2 separate regions of the Homo sapiens genome follow, and region 2 is linked to region 1. The links are contacts of gene promoters, found by promoter capture Hi-C in blood cells and fetal thymus (Javierre and others, 2016). All regions are on one chromosome and are shown on one strand. The core of a region is centred on a gene start or on the middle of the fragment in contact, and the rest is flanking DNA. Distances in the headings are between cores, read along the strand shown.

Region 1 (4,736 bases), core at 1,636-4,135:
GAGTCAAGGAGAAACCACTATCTTTATTATAAATGTTACTACTCAAACTTTCAACTGTACTAGAACTCTTACATGTACGCTGTGTCAACACTGTGTACACCGGAGGTAACTTTAACTCTTTATTTTGCTTTCTGGTCTCTCAAATAAGAAACTGTGCTCAATTAAATTTATCTTTAGAACAAAGAGTACATGTGGTTTACACCTAGCTTTTGACCTGAGGCAAAGACGTTTTGCAGAAGCAAATATTTAATACATTTGGGTATTCTAATTTCATGTAAAATAACTAGCTGCAATGAATACTTTTCTGATGGGGTTGACTTAAGTTTCTACAAACATGAATATCCCTCCACTCCTCTTCCCCCAAATAATACTGTATTTTTGGATGAGGAATTAACATAAAGCCTCTGAATTTTAACCAGTTAGATTTTCCTGAGCATAAAACATGTGCAAGTGAGCTCATAAATAAAAACCTGCAAAACTCACAACTTAAGCTTGCCATAAACAAGCCAACAAGAACACTTTCAGCATCCACTTCACATGGCGAGGTCTTAGCTAAAAGATGTGATCCCTAAAAGCACTGGTCTTCTCAAAGAAATGCCAACACAGCAGACACATCAAGTTCACCTAACTTTGTAAATAATCCTTAGCATAACTGAAGTAGAACAACTATGAAGCCCCCTTACTGAACTACACAAACCTATTATTATTAGTCATGCCAGCTCTATTTTCTGCAGATATAGCCAACCATAGCATAGCTAGCTCACGGTACACTCTATAGCAGAAGGGAAGTAAAATTTAATGTAGTTTTTTAAGTCAGTGATTCAGGCAATTCTTGGAATAAGTTCCACTTGAGAAGATGTAACTAAGAGGTCTTATTGAAAGACACTCCCCAGCTGTTGACAGCTCAACTTTGGAAATTCCCTCTTTTTTGCCGATTCCTGACTATCCCTAAATCCAAATTACAAAGTTTAATGACCCTGGAGAGCCATCTTTGCCTCCAGTGAACTCAGAACTGTATCTAAATATTCATTAAGGCTCTAGATAAATGTTTATTGAATTAAAAGGGGGAAAAGACACTGGAAACCTAGCCTCCAAAAACCCACTGCCTGCTCCCTTGCCCACTACAAGATTAAACTGGGTGCTCCTGTGATGAGAGTCAACCCATCCAAGACCCAGGGGGTCTGACCCTGGGCCATGAGGCGATGACAGCCAAGAGGTCTGGGCAGCGGCTCCAAAACGGAGCACCCACTGCCCTGGGAAATGTTGGGCGCTTGCTATGACACAAACCCTCCCCCAGGGAGCGGAACCGGATGGCCGGAAACCAAGTCAGTTCTGTATAGACCCTAAGGCCCCAATCCTATTCCACCACCCTCCTTCCTGTTTATAGATCCCGCTCCTGGAACTCCAACTACCAAAGAGAAAGCAGACGTTTTAGAAGTATGTAACACATGACGTAACTTGAAAAAGTTATGCTGCTTATTGGCGCGAGTTACAACTTGCCGGGCTCACACAGGAAAACAGGCTCACGTTAATTACTTTGCCTTTAATATGCCACGCCGTCCTTTCCTGGGGCCCCCGCAACGGTTGGGTAACTGAGAACCAGGTAGCCTCGGTGGTAGGACCCAAACTGTGTGGGCGGTGAGCAAAAGGCACGGAAGGAAGAGGGCCGATCGCTTCCGAAGCGGCAGCCGACTGGGATTCACTACAAGCCCGGCGGCTCTTTTCCCGCACAAGCGCAGGGAGAGGAAACTTGGGCACCTCACAGGCGGCACCGAGTTGCCCGATCGCTCGGCGATGTCGCCGAGGGGGCTCGCGGCACTGCGCCGATGCCCCTGGCTCGGCCGAGGGCGTGCCACCTTTGTCTGGGTTTCCCCACCAGGATGGGCTACGCCTCGATGCAAAGACGGCTTGAACTGGTTGGAGGCGCCGACGCCGCTGTCCGCGCTGGAGTTCCCAGCCCTGCGCGGGGCCCAGGAAGCCGACACAGCCGCCTGAAACCTCCCACTTACACTGCGCGCACGCGGCGCGCCTGCAAGTCCCAGCCCCGCGGTTACTTCCCTGGCGCGGCAGCCACAGGGTGGAGAGCCGGAGACCCCTCGCTCTCAGGCGCAGAGGCCCGGCGCACCCCTGCCCTCCTGGCACTGCATCGCCGGACCAGGCAGGGCCCCCGTGCCCTCTCCAGGGCCCGCTTCTTCCGCGCCCACGCGAGTCCCTTCTTCGGGAGACAACGGGCCGATGGACCCTCCCTCCCCCAGCAAGACAAGATCTCCGACTGTCCACCGCGTTAGGGAACGCACGACAGACACCCAGACAGCACCCACACCCCTGCCCGCCCCTCGGCCCTCACTCACCTGCCTGCACCGTGTCCGAGAGGTCGTGCCCGGGGGCTGCGGTACGGGGAAATTCCTTCAATTTCCTGGCGCTCAGGTTCAGCCCCCCGGAGTTGGCCGCCTCCTCAAGCGCGCGCTCCAGACCCCGGTTCAAGGGCAGGTTGAAGCCCCCGCTGCCACCGCCGCCACCACCCGCCCCGCCGGGGGCGCCGGTTCCTCCGTGGTGCTGATGGTGGTGGTGGTGGTGGTGGGGATGATGAAGTGGGTGCAGAGTAGCTACCGAAAGGGCCGGGACGAAAGGTTGGGGTTCGCTTCCCGGCGTCGCCATCTTCTCCCGGGCCCCCCCACCCCGCCCCGCCGCTCCTGCGGGGGGGTCACAGCGTTCCCCGCGAGGGGAAAACGGCAGCTCGGGCTGAGTGCCGCAGTGCTCCACCGAAAGGCGCTGGAAGGAGGGGAGGAGGGTGTGGGCAGGCGCGTAGAATGGGGGGCGGGCGGGGAGGCGGCCGTGGCAGCTCGGTCTTGAAGGTTTCCTGTCCCCGGGAAGCTAAGGACTGCGGCGGCGGCGGCGGCGGCGGCAGCGCGCATGTGTCTCCTCCCGCCCCTGCGCCCTCCCCCCGGCTGCTCTGCCCTCCTCCGCCGTCTGCTCTCTCCTCCTCCTTCCCCCACGCAGTCTGCCCCGCCTGAGCCTTCCTCCGCGCCTATTCTGCCGGCCGCCGCCGCCTTGCCGCGATCCGCCCCGCAATCGGGTACACGGCGGGGCTGGACGTCTGCTCCGGGGCAACTGAGGCGCCGAACCTCTCTCTGGGCGTCCTTTTGCCGCCCAGGAGGCTTTAGGGGACTGGAGGTTGCGGGGATAGGGGGGTGGTCTGAGAACACGGATAAAACGGCGGGAGGCAATGAATGGGATTTACAGTACAGTGAGGTTTGGGGCAGGAGAGGGTTCTCTCAATTCTGCGATTTATTCTGGCCGTTTAACCCAGAGATCCCCAAGAGGCAGTTTTCATTCACTATGGGGTCATCCCTGCAGATGCCCCCTGGCATTTGGGCGCTTACAATGAACCAGACGCTTGTTTAGGGAGTCTACGTAAGTTACCTCATTAATCCAGGGACCCCAGGAGTGCCAAAGTTGTTCCCCTGAGTCTACAGAGGAAGTTAATAAATGTATCTAAGGTCACCCCTGCAGTTAGAGGGGCGCTAGATTCGAGCTAGGGCCCTCAGAATCTAGGGTTGCCCTCCTTCACAGTGTACCCCTGGGCCAGACGCCAGCGCCAAGGGACGAATACGAGTGGGACAGAGTGTTTGCTGAGCGGCAGAAGAAAGCTACAGACATAGGAAAGAAAAACTCAAAATGAGGGCAGTGTTTATGGGGGACAGAAGACATTGTCGTAGGAGAAAGATGAGCTGGCTGCTCCCCGAAATTGGGTGGTGCCAGGAGAGGCTAGAAAGCCAGTGACCCCAAACAGCAAATCAGTCACAGCTCGAGTCTGAGCTGAAAGAACCATCGAAGTCTCCTTGTGCCCTTCTTCTTCCCGCTTTGGGGCATGGAAACGAACATGTCCGCTTGCAAGTGAATTCACATTCTGCCATCAGCCACCCAGTGGCACCCAGGCCAATGCTGGCACACCAGGGGCGACAGAGAACATCTGACACCCTAAGGGCAGACCAGCTGGACGATTAATAGAATACCATTCCTTTCCTGAAGTTAAAGCTTCATGTCCAACTTTCCAGGGCCTTTATTTTTGCTCTATTCTTAAGGCTTGATTGTCCCCTATGAGCGACTTGGCTTGGGGAAAATGAGTCGGGGGGTGGGTGCGGGGTTGTCGGGGTGTCAAGCACGAAAGTAATGCAACCCTTGGAGTAGGGGAGCTGGTTTTTTAAGTGGTAATACATAAGTTTGATGGCCTAGACAACAGGCTGGAACTGGTGACTTCATGGACTCGGCACTTAAGTATGGCATGATCTGTGTCACTTGAATTGACTGCACAGATAGTTGCCCTTAATTCCTGCGGGATTCTTGGCCCTGAGCAAAGCATTCTAATCTGCCCGGAGGAGACACGCGCCACCTGCTGGTATCCTCCCGCAAACCTCCCCTCTCACATGCCATTCGCCGCAGCCTTCCAGGCTTTTAAAAGTCCGGCTTCAAAATTCATAATAATAACGACAATAATAATAAATGAAAGTATACTTCCATCACAAAAAAGTAACCAAATTTCCACTTTCCTCCAGGGAGAGGAACAGAGAAAAACAAAATCCAGTGAAAAACAGAAACACAGAAAAAAATCCAATTAAAAGAATCTTCAGCTGAAACCAGGTGGTAGTCTGTGTGATCAGCAGTCAGGACATGATTTGGGACATCTTCTGGCTGACTGCAAATTTAGTTCAGACTAAGAGTCGTTGTGATGCATC
Region 2 (5,071 bases), core at 1,104-3,603, 1.4 Mb before region 1:
TCTGTCTGCCTCGGCCTCGCAAAGTGCTGGGATTACAGGCGTGAGCTACCATGCCTGGCCTGTTTTTTTTTTTTTTTTGTAATGGGGGTCTCATTATGTCACTCAGGCTGGAGTGCAGGGGCACGATCACGGTTCACTGCAGCCTGGACCTCCTGGGCTCAAGTGATTTCCCCCCCATCTCAGTCTCTGGAGTAGCTGGGACCACAGGTGTACACCACCATGACTGGCTAATTTTAAAATTATTTATAGAAATGAAGTCTTGCTATGTGGCCCAACCAGTTTGGTCTCAAACTCCTGGGTTCAAGCAATCCTCCCACCTCGGCCTCCCAAAGTGTTTGGATTACAGGCATGAACCATTGTGCCCAGCTACTTTTTTTGTTTTGATCGAAATTATCATGTGATTTTTCTAACTTAATATAGTGCATTACACATATTTTCAAATATTAAAACAAACTTACATCTCTGGAATATATCCCACTTGGTCATATTGTACAATTCTTTTTATATATTTCTGAATTATATTTGCTAATATTTTGCTATGGATTTTTCCATCAATATTCATGAGAAGTGTTGGTATTTTTTTCTTTTTGTACGGTCTTTTGCTGGCTTTGGTAGTGGGGTGATTCTAACTTCATACAGTACATTGGCAACTGTTCCTTCCTCTTCTATCTTCTGGAAGAGGCTGTATGGAATTGGTGTTAATTCTTGTGTAAACATTTTATAGAATTCATCAGTGAAAGCTTTTGGGCCTGGAGATCTCAGGTTTTTTTTTTTTTTAGTTTAAAAATTACAATTACAATTTTCTCTAGTTAGAGGACTATTTAAATTACCTTTTCATATTAGGTTATTTGTAGTAATTTGTGCCTTCTGAAGAATTCGCTCATCTTGTCAAAGTTGTCAAATTTATGTTATGTGGTGTTATTTATGGCATTCCTTTTTGGTGTCTGAAGGTTCTGTAATTATATTCCCTGGTATGTTCCTCACATTGGTAATTTGTGTCTTCTCTTTTTCTTTTTTCTTTGCAGTCTTGCTGGAGGTTTGTTAAATTTATTTATCTTTTCAAAAACCAGATCCTTGGCTGGGTGTGGTTGCCCACACCTGTCATCCCAGCACTTTGGGAGACTGAGGCAGGAGGATCGCTTGAACCCACGAGTTGGAGACCAGCCTGGGCAACATAGAGAGATTCTGTCCCTAAAAAAATAAAATAAAAAAATCAACCAAGCCTGGTGACACACATCTGTGGTCCCAAACTACTCCAGAGGCTGAGGTGGGAGGATCCCTTGAGCATGGGAGGTTGAGGCTGCAGTGAGCTGTGATCGCGTCACTGCACTCCAGCCTGGGTGACAGACCAAGACCCTGTCAATCAGTCAATCAATCAATCAATAGCTTCCCTGGAGACTCCAGCCTGCCACCAGCTTTGGTAACTAGTGGCCGACTGTCAGGCCTCTGAGCCCAAGCCTGCACGTGTACATCCAGATGGCCTGAAGCAAGTGAAGAATCACAAAAGAAGGGAAATTGGCCGGTTCCTGCCTTAACTGATGACATTCCACCATTGTGATTTGTTCCTGCCCCACCTTAACTGAGTGATTAACCTTGTGAAATTCCTTCTCCTGGCTCAGAACCTCCCCCACTGAGCACCTTGTGACCCCCGCCCCTGCCCGTAAGAGAAAAACCCCCTTTGTAATTTTCCGCTACCCATCCAAATCCTATAAAACAGCCCCACCCCTATCTCCCTTTGCTGACTCTCTTTTCGGACTCAGCCCGCCTGCACCCAGTTAAAATAAACAGCCTTATTGCTCACACCCTGTTTGGCGGTGTCTTCACACGGATGCGCGTGACACCGATCTCTTTGAGCATCAGAAGCGCATGACACCGACCATCTTCTCTTTGAGCATCACAAGCGCGTTACACCGACCATCTTCTCTTTGAGCATCACAAATGGTTTTATTCATTGCTGTAGGCCAAGGGCTCAAGGCTGTTTAGCACGAAGTAGACACTGGGTAATCATTTCTTGAATGAAACACATTTTACAGATGAGGCAACTGAGGCTGAGAGAAGTTAAGATCACCCAAGTGGCGGCGCTGGTCACCTTTACATTGCAATTCACTAGGAAGTGTTCAGGTTGCTCTGACCGCAGGGCAGATATTGGGGCTGCGGTGCCCAGTTCCAAAGGTCAAAGCTTGCTCCGCGCCCGCCAGGGAGCTGGTCTAGCGGCTGCAGTGTTAACCCGAGGCCCCGCCCCCAACGGGTGGCGCGAGGCGGGGCGTAGGTGAGCGCTGCAGAGAGGCTGCGCCTTGGGCCGCCTGTCGCCTGTGCGCCTGCGCGCGGCGCCGAGGGGACGGGGTCCGACTCAGAAATGGCGGCCTCCATGTTCTACGGCAGGCTAGTGGCCGTGGCCACCCTTCGGAACCACCGGCCTCGGACGGCCCAGCGGGCTGCTGCTCAGGTAATGCCTTCCAGTCCGCTGTCGTCTCGAGGGTCGGCAGGAGAAAGGGTGAGGTGTGAGGGGTCCCGTGGCCCGGCTCGGGGTCACTTCGCCGGCAGTGACATTTTCTGGGTGCCCTGCAAGGCCCTCGGGCGACTTGCCTGGGAGTGCTGCTCGCCAGGACTACGAGCGAGCCCATGTTTGCGCGGCTCTGACCCAGCCCTTAGTCCGCGAGGATCCCCGGCGGCCCGGCCGTGGCTGCTCCTGCAGTTTCTAAGAGATGGGCGGGAGCAGGTGGGCTCTGAGTGGAGGTGAGGGGGTCAGGACATTTTCTGCTGCCATTCCGGCGTCTGGCACGGTGGGCTGAGACTTGCGCCGCCCCTTTTTGGGCAGGGGGGAATGCCCTTCAAAAGTACTTTTGTGTTTCTTGGGAGCTGTCATAGGTGGGAATGTCAGAGGACCAGCGGTGCTTACTGACTTGCCTTTTGTGGGGCAAGGTAGGGAAGTTTCCCCTCTCCTCCAAGTAGTTGTATACTGTTCTACTTGTTAATAGCAGTAATAAGATTATGTTTTCTACCTAACCAGTTGGAGAGGTAAGAAAATAATCTTTTGTATAGCCTTATTTCTGGATAGGCTATAGCATAATAGTTACTGGCCTTGTTTTGAATATTTGATGTGTGCCAGGTAATGTGCTAAGCGCTTTACGTGTAGTTTCTCAGGTTTTTCAGCAACTGTGAGGAAGTCATTCAACACCTGCATCATTGTTGAACATATTATGGTTAAGAGAACAAGTAATTTGGACTAGGTCATATAGGAGGTAAGATCAAAGCTGAGATTTAATCCCAGAGGTGTCTGGTTCTAAAGCCGTGTACTTGAGTTGGCTCCACAACTTCGAAAACAAACATCTTCCTTCCAACTTTGACAACAAAAAACTGTGGAAGGGCATTATTGGTGTCCTAAGTCAATTCCAGAGTTTTGGGTTTTTTTCTGAAGTAACTCTTCATACATGTCATAGTATGAATTGATTTAGGGCCCTCCCGCCCCTACCTTTTTTTTTTTTTTTCATTTTTATTGAAGTTGTTCATACTTTCAGCCTAGGGGTAGTGAGTTCTGTGAGTTTGCTTCCCGATAGAAGTGACTTTTTGACCTTGAACTTCCTTCTTATGAATCTTAGAAGAGTGCTATTTAGTTTTTAGAAAATGGGGAATTTAGTGACAAATACGTTTTCATTCTAGTCAAAATCTTTATCTTTTTGGAAGTTCATTTAAAAGCCTTCATTTCTCCTTATGGAAATTTCCAATATTATTTTCTTTATAACAGTTGCTGTCTTCTACCCTGGTATTAAGAAATGCAGCTCTAGAGTTTGGAAGGACCTTAGTCCAACCCTTTGCTTTTGTAGATGAGGACATAGAAGTACGGAGTCTTAAGAAACTCGTTCAAGGTCACACATTTAATTTAGCAATTTGTTTTCCACATTTTTTTTTTTTTTTCCTTGAGACGGAGTCTTGCTCTGTCGCCCAGGCTGGAGTGCAGTGGCGCGATCTTGGCTCACTGCAAGCTCCGCCTCCCGGGTTCATGCCATTCTCCTGCCTCAGCCTCCCTAGTAGCTGGGACTGCAGGCGCCTGCCACCACGTCCGGCTAATTTTTTGTATTTTTAGTAAAGACGGGGTTTCACCGTGTTAGCCAGGACGGTCTCGATCTCCTGACCTCGTGATCCTCCCGCCTCGGCCTCCTAAAGTGCTGGGATTACAAGCTTGAGCCACCGCACCCGGCCTGTTTTAAACATTTGTTTAAGTTCTCTGACCCTCCTCCAATTTCTTGGTATCTTTAGCCTAGTGTACCTTCGTTGAAAATAGATATTTCAGCATATGTCTTTAAGAATAAGGACATTCTTCCAAATAACCGCAGTGATCATACTTAGGAATTCAACATTGCTGTAACATGAATATATATAGTTTAGATTCAGATTTTTCTAGTTGTCCCCAAAGTGTTCTTTATAGACATTAGATTTTTTAAAAATTTAAACTGGGATGAGACCTTGTGACATTTTCTCTGACCAACTAACCAATTAGGTGCCACCTAGTGACTTATGTGCTAGTGACCTAGTGCTCTTATATGTGTTGCAGTTGTTTATTTACATGCCTGTGAACTCTGTGGCTGGGACCCAAGTGTCTTTATTTTTTTAGTGTCCCTAGCCCACTGTCTAGTTCATAGTCATCACAAAAAATATTTGAGTGTATGACTTTTTGCCAGGCTTATGCTAGTTACTCCCCTACCCACTAATTTTTATTATTATTTTGACGTATAATTTATGTACAGTAAGATGTACAGCTTAAGTGGATAGCTAGATTAATTTTTATGTATGTATTCACCTGTGTAACCATCGTCTGCATCAAGATATACAATGTTTCCAGCCCTCAGAAGGCTCTCATGTCCTCTCTCTTATCAATACTCCCTGACAGAAGGTAGCAACCAATTATGACTTCTGTCACCATAGGCTAATTTTGACTGGTTTTGAACGCTATAAAAATAAATCATGTAAGTATATATTCTTGTTTCTGGCTTCTTTCTCTCTACATTATGTTTGTGAGATTAATCCATCGATGTGTGAGCCATAGTACTTTTTTTCTTTTTATTTCTCTGTA

The links. Contacts are between HindIII fragments. The CHiCAGO score rates a contact against its expected background, and 5 or more counts as called.
Region 2: the fragment with the promoter of SUCLA2 here is called in contact with the fragment with the promoter of LRCH1 in region 1 in 1 of 17 cell types (fetal thymus); the score reaches 5.3 in fetal thymus.

Annotation. Positions count from the first base shown.
Region 1 is chr13:46,551,319-46,556,054 of GRCh38, reverse strand. LRCH1 (leucine rich repeats and calponin homology domain containing 1) reads right to left here and starts at 2,885. Exons shown (of 20, transcript NM_001164211.2): 1 at 2,352-2,885. The coding sequence starts at 2,658. RefSeq lists enhancers at 1,752-2,071, 1,728-2,428 and silencers at 2,632-2,691, 2,752-2,941. The HindIII fragment of the contact is 3,547 bases long and covers 494-4,040 here.
Region 2 is chr13:47,998,555-48,003,625 of GRCh38, reverse strand. It overlaps SUCLA2 (succinate-CoA ligase ADP-forming subunit beta), which reads left to right and starts at 2,353. Exons shown (of 11, transcript NM_003850.3): 1 at 2,353-2,446. The coding sequence starts at 2,357. SUCLA2-AS1 (SUCLA2 antisense RNA 1) reads right to left here and starts at 2,221. Exons shown (of 2, transcript NR_189308.1): 1 at 1,804-2,221; 2 at 935-1,191. RefSeq lists enhancers at 1-141, 813-2,012, 2,389-2,578, 2,599-2,648, 2,669-2,718 and a silencer at 2,159-2,268. The HindIII fragment of the contact is 2,000 bases long and covers 2,182-4,181 here.